Linked DNA regions of Homo sapiens: region 2 is linked to region 1. The links are contacts of gene promoters, found by promoter capture Hi-C in human tissues and cell types (Jung and others, 2019). All regions are on one chromosome and are shown on one strand. Each heading gives the region's core, a stretch centred on a gene start or on the middle of the fragment in contact. The rest is flanking DNA. Distances are from core to core; before and after follow the strand shown. Region 1 holds the start of CALML4 (calmodulin like 4). Region 2 overlaps MAP2K5 (mitogen-activated protein kinase kinase 5).

Evidence for each region. Contacts are between HindIII fragments. The study calls those that stand out against the background at their distance.
Region 2: a fragment that was not itself captured here is called in contact with the fragment with the promoter of CALML4 in region 1 in 1 of the 25 tissues and cell types used here (dorsolateral prefrontal cortex).

The regions. Positions count from the first base shown.
Region 1 is chr15:68,200,410-68,207,716 of GRCh38, reverse strand. CALML4 (calmodulin like 4) reads left to right here and starts at 2,385. Exons shown (of 5, transcript NM_033429.3): 1 at 2,385-2,472; 2 at 2,566-2,596. The coding sequence starts at 2,470. It overlaps CLN6 (CLN6 transmembrane ER protein), which reads left to right. Exons shown (of 7, transcript NM_017882.3): 7 at 1-725. RefSeq lists enhancers at 1,392-1,686, 6,425-7,196. The HindIII fragment of the contact is 22,474 bases long and covers 1-7,307 here.
Region 2 is chr15:67,785,959-67,793,265 of GRCh38, reverse strand. All of the region lies in intron 21 of MAP2K5 (mitogen-activated protein kinase kinase 5), which reads right to left. Among named protein-coding and RNA genes, the nearest start is that of SKOR1, 36 kb to the left of the region's middle. RefSeq lists an enhancer at 1,543-2,412. The HindIII fragment of the contact is 5,345 bases long and covers 1,233-6,577 here.

The sequences.
Region 1 (7,307 bases), core at 1,136-3,635:
CTGGCTCATCCCTCAGGCCCACCCTGACCCTACATTACATAGGTTACGTCAGCCTACTGTGGCTGTTGAGCAAAGCATTTCTCCTTTCTGGGCCTCATTTGCACTAGATGGGCCTGTGGTCCCAAAGTAGGTCAGTAGGTTGGGGTTGCTGACACCCCTTGGGTGCAGCTTTGGGACAGATGAGTGGCTCTGTCCTGTCACTGCCCTCTCCCTGCCTGGGGGCTATGTGCACTCCAGACCCCTGCCCAGGCTCAGGCCCATGAGGTATGGAGACACCCTGGCCCCCAGGAGCTGGAGGCACCGCCCACTCCCCTGGCATTCCAGCTTTGCAGGTGACCCTCCTCTACCCAAAGCTCTGTCCCCCTGCTCCCACTCCAGAAGAACTGCGGCACGCGCTTCGGGCAGCCTAGCCACAGGCTTTGAGCGCCTGCATTCCTGGGGGCTGGAGGGTGGGGTGCCAAAGGCCCTGAGCAAAAGCCAGAGCTCCTCTCATCAAAGCCTTTACAAGGTGCTGGGCCCAGAGGCTTTGCCTTGACAGAGTGGCCCAGGGTTTCAAGGGAGGAGGAACCTCCCCCTACCTAGGACCCTTCCTGTGGGGGGTCTACAGAGTCAGGGACAGAAGGGAAGGGACCCACAGGAAGTCACAGTGGTGCCCAGGGATGTGTCAGCCCCCAGCCACGGGGACGCGGGATTCAAGAATGAAGTAAATACAGTCACAGCCCCAAGTGGTGTTAGAGGTGTTTTTTGTCTTTTCTCCCTTTCGTGCTGAGGTGTAGCACACACGGTGCGCCCTACAGCATGGTGAGTTGCTGTATCGTGAACCCTCACGCAGCCATTGCCCCACGCTGGTGTTTTCCATCTGTGCGTCACCCCCGGAGACACCTACACACATAAGGAGGGAGTTGGCCGGGGCACCCCAGCACACACTGGCCTAACTCCAAGGAGGCACCTCATCTCTTCTGGAGCCCCTTCCCACAGGCAAGGGGATTCAGAGGGAGCATGTTGGCCTGGCCGCCTTCAGGCTTCCAGAGTCCCAAGTGACTTTCCTTGATGTCCTTCTCTCCATCCTCTGCACAGAGGCAGCCTTCCCTCCTCTTATCCCTGCCATGGGGTTTGGGAGGGGGAGCCTCAAACTCTGACAGGGAGGAGTCGGAGTCCCCAGCTAAAATTCTCTGGGTCTAGAAACAGGTGTAAAGCGATTCTGGGGATGTGATTTGGGAGAAAAGCACACTTTCCACACAGAGGCGGTCAGGAAAGGAGCGGGGAGGGGAGAGTGGGGCACAGGCAGCGCCTCCCGTCTATGCGCCTGTGTGCAAAGTGGCACAATGCCCCCCTTCCTATTGGCAGTGCAGCCCCTGGCCAGCAACCACTCGCACCTGGGCTGGGGGCCTTTGTGTAGGGCACACCTGTGCAGCCACACCTACTTGTAGAGCCTCATAGACTCAGCTGTGGACAAAAGCCTCACGCCCCAAACAGGGAAATGGGATCTCAAGGGGAAGAAGCTGGGGAGGCCTCACACCCTGCCCCCATTTCCTCCTATGTGGGGGAGGGGAGCAGCACGAACTCCTGAAGACTTGGGAGCGTCAGCAGCTTCTGCGGAAGGGGTGGGGCTGAGGGTGGAGAGAGGAAGGGAAGGAAGAAAAGGGGAGCCTTCCTGGCCAGGGTAACCGGCACTAAGAGGCCTCACTCCAAGCCCCCGAGGAGCCTGTGGTGGGGCTGGAGACCCGGCTCAGGCCCCTCCACCACCCTTAAAGTCCTCAGAAGGTGGGAACTGAACTGGCACAGGATGGGAACCGGCTGTGCGCTGGCCACTTGATTTTGCCAGCTGCCCTGTAATTCAGCTGGTGAGGAAACTGAGGCACAGACTGAGGTAGAATGATTCGCCAGTCACTCAGCAAGTCAGCAGACGGGGAGGACTGAATCCCAGCCTGAGAGCACCGAAGCTTGTATCCCTGCAATACCGAGCCCCAAGCCTGCGAGCCCCGGTGCCCATCTCTGAGTTAGGCCGTCTTGGAAGGGTTCCCTTCCTCCTACAAGATGGTGTGTGAGGAGCCTTCAATACGACCCGGGGTGTAAAGTGTCCAACTCTAGTAGGGGCCTGATGGCATCCCCGCCGAGTCCCAGGAGAGAGAGAGAAGACCCCTTCCTGGAGTCCAGGGCTCCCGGGAAGAAACACTGGCATTTGTCCCTTTGCTTCGGCTTCTGGAGGCAGAGACTCTGAGCCCAGGGAGAGCCTTCTGCAGCCCCATTTCCTCAAAAATCCAACCTGCCCAGGTGGCGGGTCATGAGCTGTGCTCAGGAAGCTGGAATCTGACCCTGGTGGCGTCGGGCCCAGTCTCCATGGCAGCCGAGCATTTATTACCCGGGCCTCCACCCAGCTTGGCAGACTTTAGACTTGAGGCTGGAGGAAAGGGAACTGAACGCGGTTCTGGGAGCAGCAAGCCCACGGGTAGCAGCCGAGGCCCCAGAATGGTGAGTGTGAGGGTCTGTGTCGGCCTGGCCAGGGCTGGGGGCGTGAACCTCAGGTGGAGCCCTCCCCTGACTGTTTTCCTTTCTCTGCTGCAGGCCAAGTTTCTTTCCCAAGACCAAATTAATGGTAGGTTGGGTTTGTTCTTTGATTAGCAACTCAGCAAAATATGGGTCTCATTAGGCAATTTGCTCTGCTCATGTTTTCTTGGTGGGAAGGAAGGTGGCTGTGGGAGAGCTGGGCCCACCCAGGGCCAAGAGCTGCGGGGAGGCTGCTGTTGGCGGGGTGGGGGTTGGGGGTAAGCCTCCAAAATAGACATGTGGCTTTATACTTGTCAGTGTGACTTACAAGCCAGGGCGCTAAGACAGAACTTACTAGGTTTCCCTCCAGAACCTGACCAGTTGGATTTGGGGACTGAGGGGACTGGGGATGGAGAGAGAGACCATTAAAGGTATGGCTGGCAGCAGGGAAAGAGGAGGGGCTTTGTAATTGAGACAGAACAGAGGCCAGGTCTGCACTCTCTGGCAGGATGCGTCTACTCTCTGCGCCTCAGTCTCCCTATCTGTAAAATGGAGGGTCCACTGAGCCCCCTTTGCCCTGGCATCAAGCCTGGTTTGGGCGTGAGCACTTTATTCCCTGGGTCCCCTACTCTGCCAGCCCTCGACCAGGCTTCAGTTTCACACCGTGCAGGGTTCTATTTCCAGAAGGCCAAGAGCAAAGAGTTGCGTTACAAAGAACTTGGGGGCCCAGACCTGAGCCAGGGGAGCCTCATGGCTGCAGCCCCCCTGCACCTGGCAGGAGAGGCCCAGGAGGCACAGCCAGCTGCTGCTTGAGGTTGTGACCCTGAAACCTGTCCCAACAGTGGACGTCAATGGGCCTGAGAGTCCCCCGAGGCATCCCATTCCTCCAGGTCTTTGCTGAAACATCGCCTTCTCAGTGAGTCCTTCGCTGACCACTGGAGATAAAATTACAGGCACCTTGGGCCCTTGTGATCCAGGGTAGGGTCCTGAGAGCCCAGCCAAGTGGGGTTAGGGTTACCTGGGCAGGAGTTCCAGAGTTCTGGGTATTCTGAGCTTGGTCCAGAGGGGCAGGAATTGTGAGCTCCAGGTGGGCACCTCCACGTAGAACCCTGGAACTCTTTATCCCAAGAGGAGGGCCAGGGCAGGAGCAGGGACTTTTAAAACACAGGGCCCGGGGCAGTGCCCTCTTGTCCAGGTCTAACGGTGATAATGAATGGTGGACTGAGGGCTGGAGTCCAGCCTTCAGCCTCAGCATCCTCCCACCCATGCCTGGTTTTGAGGCTCACTGACCCTCCCTCCTGGGATAGCCAAAGCTCCCAGAAGGGAAGAAGGTAAATTGTCTTTGTATCCCAGTATCTGACACCAAGAAAGTGGCCACCAGTGTTTAATGAGTGTGTGAAAGACTGGATGGGGTGGCCTAGCGAAGTGGGAAGAACAGGGGCTTTGGAGGCAGCAGACCTGAAGCCTAATCACCCTTGAGCCTCGGTTTTCTCACCTATGAAGTAGGATATGCCACCTTACCAGGCTGCTGCGAGCCACGGACAGAGGGGAATAATGTCAGTTACATGCTGGACGCTGGGCCAGGCATAGCCAGGTGTCACCCACATGTGGGCTGGGGCTGGCTCACTACAGCTAGCAAGAGCCATAGTTTTAGGAATTTTGCAAGCAGGATGTTAAAGCCAGCCATTATTAAATAATGTAGGATCAAACAGTGTTTCAATCCCTACATCTATCTGTACAAAAAGTTAAAAAGACAGCCCTATTGTGATCAGTGGAGATGGAGATTTGAAAGAAGTTTCAATTTAATGAATGTGTTTGGTAAAAGGGTGAGAAATAGTTTAACAGTAGATCACATCAGGTTTAATGACCATTCATTCATTGGAAAAAGAATCGCACTCATTGGCGCGCAGCTTCATTTGTCAAATCATGGTTGAATCGAAACTATAGGTTGGCAATGGATATAAGAGTTGGCAAAACTTGGGCTGAGTGCAGTGGCTCACGTCTGTAATCCCAGCACTTTGGGAGGCCGAGGCATGTGGATCACCTGATGTCAGGGGTTTGAAACCAGCCTGGCCAACATGGTGAAACCCCATCTCTACTAAAAATACAAAACTGGCCAGGTGCAGTTGGCTCATGCCTGTAATCCCAGCACTTTGAGAGACCGAGGGAGGCAGATCACCTGAGGTCAGGAGTTTGAGACCAGCCTGGCCAACATGGTGAAACCCTATCTCTACTAAAAGTACAAAAATTAGCCTGGTGTGCTGGCAGGCACCTGTAATTCCAGCTACTCAGGAGGCTGAGGCAGGAGAATCACTTGAACCCAGGAGGCGGAGGTTGCAGTGAACCGAGATTGAGCCACTACACTCCAGCCTGGGCAACAAGAGCGAGACTCTGTCTCAAAAAAAAAAAAAAAAAAAAAAAAGCCGGTCATGGTGGCACATGCCTATAATCCCAGCTTCTTGGGAGGCTGAGGCAGGAGAATCACTTGAACCTGGGAGGTGGAGGCTGCAGTGAGCTGAAATTGTGCCATTGCACTCTAGCCTGGGCAACAAGAGCAAAACTCTCTCAAAAAAAAAAAAAAAAAAAGTTGGCAAAACTCATTTGTGGTAATCAAGTGGCTAGATGGAATTTATTTATTTGAGACAGAGTCTTGCTCTGTGCAATGGCATGATCTCCGCTCATTTCAACCTTCACCACCCAGACTCAAGGGATTCTCCCACCTCTGTCTCCTGAGTAGCTGGGACTACAGGCATGCACCACCACACACAAAACATTTGTAAATATTTTGTAGACATGAGGTCTTACTATATTGTCCAGGCTGGTCTCGAACTCCTGGGCCCAAGCGATACTCCTGTCTCACCCTCCCAAAGTGCTGGGATTACAGGCGTGAGCCACTGCACCCAGCCCTAGATGGAATTTATAATAAAGAATAGTGTACATTTCTGTATTATTTGTAAATTGTGTGCTACACATCCTTTATGTTTGTACAGTGCAGAGGACACAAGTACATTTATGATCAGAGCTGGTGGTTAAACATCCAGCACAGCTGGTGTTATCCTAGGCCTTGCACAGGTCTCTTTCTTGTCCTGGGGGATTTGCATTTTCAAAGAGAAGACTTAAAGGGGATTTTTAATCCAATTCATTTAACCCAATTAATCCTTTCATTCAACAAATGTTTGTGTCCCTTCTTTGTGCCTGGAGCTACATACAACAGTGAACTCAAAGACAAAAATCCCTTCCTCACAGGGGGTCACCATCGAGGGAGGGGAACGTGGTGAAATATATGTGCTAGTATGTTAGAGGGCCGACCTGTCAGGAGAAAAAGCAGGAAGGAGAGCCAGGAGGTGAGGAGGGAGAGTGAAGAGATGGTGGAGGAAGGGGCCAGCAGGAAGCCCAGCTGGGTCTCCAGCACCCTGTTGTCTTGTTCCAGTGCAGGAATGCAAAGTTCAGATGTGGCCTTCCAGGTCTTTAAAGGCGTCTGAGGCAGGGAGACAGCACGTATCTGATGTGAAGGTTTGTGAGGAGGTGGGCCTCTATTTGAGCCCTGGCCCTGCTGCTGGCAAGGACCACAGGCCCCCAGTGACTGACAGGGCTTGTCGGGGAGTAGTGAAGTGCCCCCATCTGCAGATCCAGGCTGATTCTGGACCCCAAGGGTGTGATGAGCACCTTCCAGCACAGGTCAGGCAGGGAGAGCAGTGGGCCTTGGGCCCACCCTCACCCAAGGGCAAACCCAGACAGAAAGACAAGGTGAGGGTGGCCATGAGAGGTCCCCAGGGGTACCCCCTGTAGTGCTAAGGTTAAGCTCTGTGATTGGGGCAGCCCTCTCTCTGTCCCCCTGACGTGAGGTGATGGCATTGTCCCCTCTGGCACTGGGCCCTCTTGCAGGCAATTGGGTTTTATGGGAACTAAACCTGGGGTCTTAGGCCAGGCTCTGGCCCTGCTTCCCCTGGGCCTTTTTGGCCCCTGCCACCTGGTCCTGACTTTGGTTTGCCCCTTCGGAAGCTCAGGCTCTGGAATGTTCTGAAAGGGCAGTTGTGCGGGGCTGGGGCTTTCCTCTCAGTCTCTCCACAAAGGCCGCGAATTTGTCTCTAAATGGTACATGGCGATCTGCCTGTCTTTAGTGACCCCCCTGAAATCCTACCAGGGAGGCCTGAGTGCCTTCATTAGGGAATATGAAGGGACCCCTGGTCTGGGCTGGGGATTTGGGGGGCTCCTTCTGCATCCTCTCCCTCACCCTACTGCTCTCAGTGGTGTCTGCCCTGGAACCGAAGGCAGTGTGGCCTGGTGGGCAGAGCTGCCCACAGCCAGGCTCTCAGTGTTCCAGCCCTCAATGTCCTGTCCGCACATGGGAATATGAGGGGGCGCATCACAGGGTTGTGGGGATGAAGCGAGGGCCTGGGGGTGGAGTGCTCAGCAACGTGAATTGTCATTGTTGCTGTCATCAGCTAAGGGGCTATTATTGTCCAGGCCTCTAAGGACCTACCTGGGTGGTGTGAGAAGCAGGAGAGAGAACAGAGCCCTGAGCCCCAGCCTGGGAGGGCCAGCGCCAGGCCACTGTGTTTCCACGGCTCCACCCACAGGCCCGGGTGCCTCGTCTGGGCTGGACGAGAATCTCCCTGTCCTGATGGCAGCCCCACCTACCCCTAAATCAGATGCTCAGTCAGTGCGGTTCAGGGACTTTTCCTGAACTCCCAGCTGGCCTTCCTGGGCCTCCCAGGGCCGGGAGCCCGTGGGATGGCTGTGTCAGGCCGGGAGTCTGTGGGTTTAGGGGAGCTAGCTCCGGCTGCCTTCCACCTCCACCAAGTACCGAAGGAGAAAGG
Region 2 (7,307 bases), core at 2,656-5,155, 420 kb after region 1:
GTGTTGCCCTGACTGGAGCACAGTGGCTATTCACAAGCACAATCATTCCGCACTACACCTTTGAACTCCTGGGCTCAGATGATCCTGTTTCAGTTTCCCGAGTAGCTGGAAGTAAATTTAACTTTGTAAAAAATTAAATCCTGATGCATGTAATCTGTTTAAGAGGATAGAGCAGTGTTATAACACATTTAAGACCTCTTGCTTGTAATTTTTTAAAGTTTGATTTTATAAAGAATACACTACAGTTATCTGAATAATTTTCTTACATGGAGCAGCTCATCCACCTATGATGTTGCCATGTGAGTTTTAGAAAATCCATATTAAACACAATGAAGGCTCTCACTTTGCCCACTTTTCTGTAAAGTTTGCCATGAAGCACCATGTGATCTCACGGGGACAGACAAGCTTGCCGATCCTCTGAATTCATTAAAGACATACGGGGCCGCTTTGGGCCCAAGTTTACCTTGGCTTCTTTGCAGAGAGTTTGATTACTTTTAAGATTTATGGTCAAAGCGGGGGGCGGAAAAGAAATATCTCACAGAGCAGATTTACAACTTCATCTTGATTTTTAATACCATTAGGGATGACATCCAATGACATAATCTTGGAATGACTGCAGGGTGACTCAGAAACTCAGTGGGAAGTTTTATATTTTAGGGTCTGGAGCATTTTGTAGTTGCAAGGTCAGGTAGGAAAGGACCAGGGAAATGAGCCAGAGAGACGGTCAGAGAGTGAGTGTCAGCTGGTTTAATTTTCTGTGTCAACCCCGAAAATTAGATAAACAATGACAAACCAGGCTTTTTAAATGAACTTGTCACTTCTGGTTTTCTTGATACAGAGCAACATTTTTCAAGTCCTGGTAGCCCCAAAGACAGATTTAACCCCTGAGAGGTGTATCCAAGTGTTTCAAAGACCTCACATCTAAAAATAAAAGGTTTAGTCTAACCCTATACCCCTTAAGAGAAAAACTAATTATCCTTGAAATTTAAATACTCTTCTCATAACAATTAAGGGGACTTTGCCTAGAGCCAGAAGGTCCAGTCTTTTGCAGGAGGGTCTTAGCAACGTCCTAGTTTTTTTCTTTCCACCAGACCAACTCAACCCTTCAACACAGTTCCTTTGATCTTAACCTCCTTTTGCAAACCTGACCTCCCACCACTGTTCTAAGCAATACTGTCCACATTGAGCAGGTATTGGCTCTCTTCTCACCAATGCAGGTGAGCAGAGACCTGGCCCTGCCCCTCCTCTGCCTGGTGCTCTGTCGTTATGAAGAGGTAGGAGGTAAGAATTGCCCTGACTTTTATATGCTTTGTGCTATTTTAAGTCTTTGTTGCAGCCATGACATTCTCCCTGGTGGTGAGGGGAACAGATCAGTGAATCTTCCTAATAGCTGCTCCTACTGCCTTTGCTGTAAGGATATTTATTTAAAGACAACCCAGTTTGAATATGTTGATTTGGAGAGAGAAATGCTTATATTTACTGATACCAGCATTTGAGTAGTGGTTTTCATTCTACAACCGGCTTTCAAGCTCATTATCTTATTTCAGTGTCACAACAACCCCATAAAGCAGCTGGATGGCATTACTGTTACTTCCCTCAATTTGTGGATTTGGCCAAGGTAGAGCTGGGATTTGCACTGGATGTCAGCTCCCAAACCTGTGCCTTTTGTGATGATGTGCAATATAATAGCAGCCAGTTGTGAGCACTTACCCTGTGCCAGGTGCTCACTAGGTGCTTTCATTTACATTAGTTCATGTGATCTCCAAAAGCCCTATCAGAAAGTAAATGATAACCTATTTTATAAACAAGGACACTGCACTCTAAGATGGTAATGATGCCTGAGCCCAAGTTTCTTGAGGTTCTTGGCCTTCACAGGTCAGTCTTTCCCCACACTCCACAAGTGGTCAAAACAAGCCCCTGCATAACAAAGTCAGAGTCTGCCTTAGAGAAAATATGAAACAGGTGATTTGAAGCCCTTTGATCCTTCAGTCTTTGCCTCATCCCTCAACTCCAATGCCCCTTTTCCTGTTTAATGCAGAAGAGTCTCCTCTTCCAAAGCTTCAAAGTCATCTTATGCCAGCTAACTGCTGACATTAAGCCAATTCACAGGAAAGTATGAATAACTTAAGAAGGGCACTAGGGCCATGTGCATTTGAAAAGAAGATGCTTGGCTCCTGCCCAGCTGCAGCTCGGATGTCTCACAGGTGGACTATTCATGGCGTGAGGAGCTCTCTCTGGGTAGACAGGTAATAATTTACCTGTGGTTTCCAGGAGTCCTATGGATTTCATTCTCTACAACACAGCTTATTCCCCCTAGCTCTGACTCGTCTTCTGTAAAATATGGAGAACAGCATCAACCTCACAGGACAGTGTGTGTGAAATTCCCAGCCCAGAGGCAGTTCCATAGTCATAACTATCAGTGGCCTAAATTTTGCAGTACTTATCATACTCCTTTTCTAAGGAAACTTTTATAACACCTAACACATGTTCAGCACTAAGTGTGGCAGACATTAGGACACAGGTTTTTTTTTTTTTGTTTGTTTGTTTTTATGTGACTGGCTCTCCTGACAGCTGCAGTAGAGAATTAAAGGCTGCTCTCCACATCTTAAAGACCCTCACCACTCAGTAAGCAGCCCCTCCTCTGAGCCTCAGCCCTAAAGACCCAACTTGCTCCCCATTTAAAACAAGAATGAGCAGACTTCTGGGTTTAGAATTCCATGTAACTAAACCACAAAATAGAAAAAAGGAATCCCAACTGTTGCACTTGTGCACAGCCTACAGACAAGACGGCAGTGCCCTCAGACAGCATTTCAAATACAGTTTATTAGTGTGTGATATGAAAAGGGTATTTTTATTGCATGATATAATGCAATGGGACCTTGGGCGCTCTGTGGAAAGACCTCACACTCAGAAGTGTAATGAACCCGTAGTCCCAAAAACATTATACTGTACATTAACCTATCATTAATGGCACATTAGGGCTAGGGGCATTGCACGCTTGCTGGTCAGGGCTCCATCAGGACAGTGTTGAGAAAACCACACAGTCTTCCCAGGCTTAAAACAAATAGAAAAAATAAATATTCCTGATGTCTACAGGCTGCTTTAAAGGAAGTTCAATCCAGCTCTGCCTTGCAATTTCCAAGCCTGCTTTTTTAAGAGTGGAAGAAAGATACACAACCAAACAAAGGGAAAAGAAAACGACTCTCTTGTAGTTTACCCCCAGCTATTGGCTATTCAACCTCAATGTTGCTTGACAAGGTCATGAGCAAATAGCACCTTGGTAGTGTAAAAGCTGCCCAAAGGACACTCGGGCCTGGACCACAGACTGCAGAAGTGGGATGGGGCCTTGGAAATTGTGTCCACCCCCTTCACTGTCTAGATGGAAAAATCAATCTTCAACAAGATGAAGGAAGAGACAACACATTCAACAGAAAAACAGGCAAAGAATGTGAAAAAAAAAATGTGACCAACAAACATATGAAAGAAGTGTTAATCCTCATACTTAATAAAATAAACATAAATTAAAATGATTAGATCCTTTTTTTTTTTTGAAACAGAGTTTTGCTCTTGTTGCTCAGGCTGGAGTGCAATGGTGCGATCTCGGCTCACTGCAACCTCCACCTCCCCGGGTTCAAGCAATTCTCCTGCCTCAGTCTCCAGAGTAGCTGGAATTACAGGGTCCCCCCACCACACCCAGCTAATTTTTGTATTTTTAGTAGAGACAGTGTTTCACCATGTTGGCCAGGCTGGTCTCGAACTCCTGACCTCAGGTGATCCACCTGGCCTCCCAAAGTGCTGGGATTACAGGCGTTAAGCCGCCACGCCTGGCCAACTAGATACCATTTTGCCACTGATTAGGTTGGCAAAGATTAAAATCTGATAATTTAGTATCAGAAGAGATGAAGAAGAAGAGCTAACATTCTCATATCCAGTATACAAAGATGTATACATAGAGACACAGTCACTGTCTTAATAACAAAAAAATATGGAAATGGTCAAAATATCCTATGACAGGGTCCTGGATAAATAAATATGATACATCCATAGTATGGAATACTATACAGCCATTAAGAATAAGGTTGATCTTTATATTATATGGAAAGACCTCAATGACTCACTAAGTAAAAAAGCAAGGTGCAGAATAAAAAGAATTAAAAATTCTAGAAGGATACCCAAGCTACTATTAACAATGCTTATCTCTAGAGATTAGGGCTGGAAGATATGGAGGATTGGAAGGAGACTAACTTCTTACTGTATATCCTTCTGTACTGTGTAATTTTTTTTTTTTTTTTTTGAGACAGGGTCTCTCTCTGTCACCCATGCTGGAGTGCAATGGTACAATCATGGCTCACTGCATCCTCTACCTCATGGGCTCAAGTGATCCTCTCACCTCAGCATCCTGAGAAGCTGGGACTACAGGCAGTGCCACCATGTCCAACTAGTTTTTAAGTTTTTGTAGAGACAGGGTCTCACTATGTTGCCCAGGCGGGTCTCGAACTCCTGGGCGAAAGTGATCCTCCTGCCTCAGCCCCCCAAGAGCTAGAATTAAGCATGATCCACCATGTCTGGCCAAATTTTTAATCATAATTTAAAAACTAGTTTTAGCAAATAAATATGGATGATGGCAGGAATAAACATTGCTTATGAACCTATTATTTTCCAACTACTATATTAAGTGCTTATGTGCTTCACCTTATTTGCCTTTTTACAAAAACAGTAACAGTAAATTGGTCACTATTATCCCCTTTCCATGCAGTGGGTACTAAAGTTTCCAGGGGTGAAGTAACTTGCTCAAGGTGACTCTCTTACCCATCTACCTTCAATAATGAAGCAGAGTATTTATAAAATAGAGAAATACTTTCCAAACTTAAGACAGCCTGAGGCTACCTTCCTGGGGACAGCCTGTATAACCCAGCAGTGATACAAGGAGGTGAGTGGAAGGCAGGACAAAAGGCTGCTGACTGGCTGAGGCCAAATCAAATTTCTGGAAACATCTTATCTCCATATAAAAAAAAGGGGAGAAGGCCTGGGGGCCCCAGAGCTATACATTGTTTAAGTAAATAATGCTTGCAACCAGGGACTCAAATATATAAAGCAAAGTAGTTCCCTAATTACATATAAATCAACATCAAAGGCAACACACTTGCAGGTCCATGAAGAGGAAGCTGCCTCAGACCAGCAGAATTTCAAGGTGAGATCAGGGGCTGAGAAGTATCCAGAACAGTCTCCACACCTTAGGACGGTGCTGTGCCAACAAAGTTTACTGTTTTCTCATTCCTCCATTTTTTCCCAATTTTATTAAGAGCCTTATTATTTTTGGGTAATAGACTGCAGTAACATTTTTAAATGCTAGATTTTATTTGTCCTAGGGTCTGCCAGCACATGCTGTAATTAAAATGTTGATTAGTAAACAGTTTAAATATATGACAGACAATGCAGTTAAAGCCTACAGTTAGGTCAACATGTGATTTAGATTTGCCATTTAAAAAATCTCATTTAAATTTTGCATACATTAATCACTACCATACTTCAAGGTTCTGATATCCACCTGACTACAATATTAAAATAAAACTTGCTGCCCCAGGGAAATCCTACTTATTCTTAATTGTTTCGAGGCTTTGATGGGCTTTTAATCTAAGATTAATTTATGCAATTTTAAATAACTCTTCTTATGATTAATAAGCTTGAAAATTAAAAGGAGTCTAAAGCAATTATAATGAGCATTTGGTCATAACCTCATTAGAAGAAGGAGTGAAGGATACAGCTCTGGAATTCTTACAAGACTACAATTTAAGGTTACTTTTAGAGAAGTCAAACATAGTTCCTGAAATTGCAAAGGCAGGTTAGCAAAGGTCAGTGTTAAAATGACGGCTAGCTAGATTAGCATACTAATGATTTTCCCTGATAGTGACAGAAAGGACACAGAAAAGAAGATGCAGAAAGAGAGACAAGTGACATGCTGCCAAACAGCTACAAGCGCTGAACTCGGTTTCCCATCCTTTTGGCTAGAGACCTTCGCAAAATTTGAGAAACAGCCAAAGGGTTAGGACATTCCTATGCACGAATCAGCTTCAGCCAGAGGGTCTGGCCCACCAGGGGCAGGCGGAATCAGTCCTGTTGTCCGCCCTGCCTGCCTATCTATCATTGAACAGCCACTTCCCTGCTTAAGAACCAACAAGTGCGTCCAACTGCCCCACTACTCTCTGGTGTGCACAGCCCTTCCAGATCACACTGGCCCCATGCAGCTAACTTTACCCCATCATTTCCAAGGGTCTTTTTTGCTTTGGCTAGGGTGGGTTCTTCACTGTCCTTGTTCCCTCCGGTCTCAGCCTGTGCCATTTTCTCTCCCTGGAATGTCTTCCCTCTTGTTATTAGCAGTGATGATGATGACAATGACGATAAAAATGGTTACCATTTATTGAACACTTATTTTATGCCAGACACTGTGCTAAGTGTCTAACATTTTTATCTCACTTAAATTTCATGCTTTGCGATACTCTATTTTTGTAGATAAGCAACTAGAGGTGGAGAGCGTTCAGTAACATGTTGCAGGATGGACAGCTAGGAGAGGAAGGGAGAGGGAGGGGAGAAGCTGGCTTTCTGTTGTACCACCACTTTCCAAGTTCTGTACTCAGGCCCGAGCCAGGCATCCTCACTGACTACTACGGCCCCTCGGCCACTGTTCCGAGCTCCCGCACCACCCAAGCCAGCAGCTTGGCACTCATCTACCTTCTCTAAATGTTGCCAATGGGCATGTCTAGTCTGCTCCTGAGACATAGGTCTTTCTTATATTCTTTCTGAACCCATCATGGCACCTCACAGACCTGGACAACAAATACTTGTTGATTAACTGGTTTACAATAATTCCCTCCAACAAGATGCTCATTACATTTTACCAATAATAAAGGACAGACATGAAAAGTTATGGCTTCCAGTGAGTGGGGAGGAATGTGCTTCATCTTGTTTGGATTTTCAACCACAGAGACCACCCCAAGAGACTACCAATTCAGTGTACACCAATTGCAAACATCCGACATACATATAATTTATTCTAAGTCACATTAAACTTCCCTAAACACATGTATCTTCCAAGAGGCAACAAGCTGGAAATACCCAGGAACATCAGACAGATGAGAAAATCATGACCCAAAGAGGCTGAATGACCTCGTGCCCCATGTATGTCTCGCACTTCATAGTTTACAAACACTTTCATAACCTCCATCTTCTGTAAGTTAAAAAAAAAAAAACAACCTAACAGCTAAAAGCCCCCTGTGAAGTTGGTATCATTACCCCATTTTACAGATGAA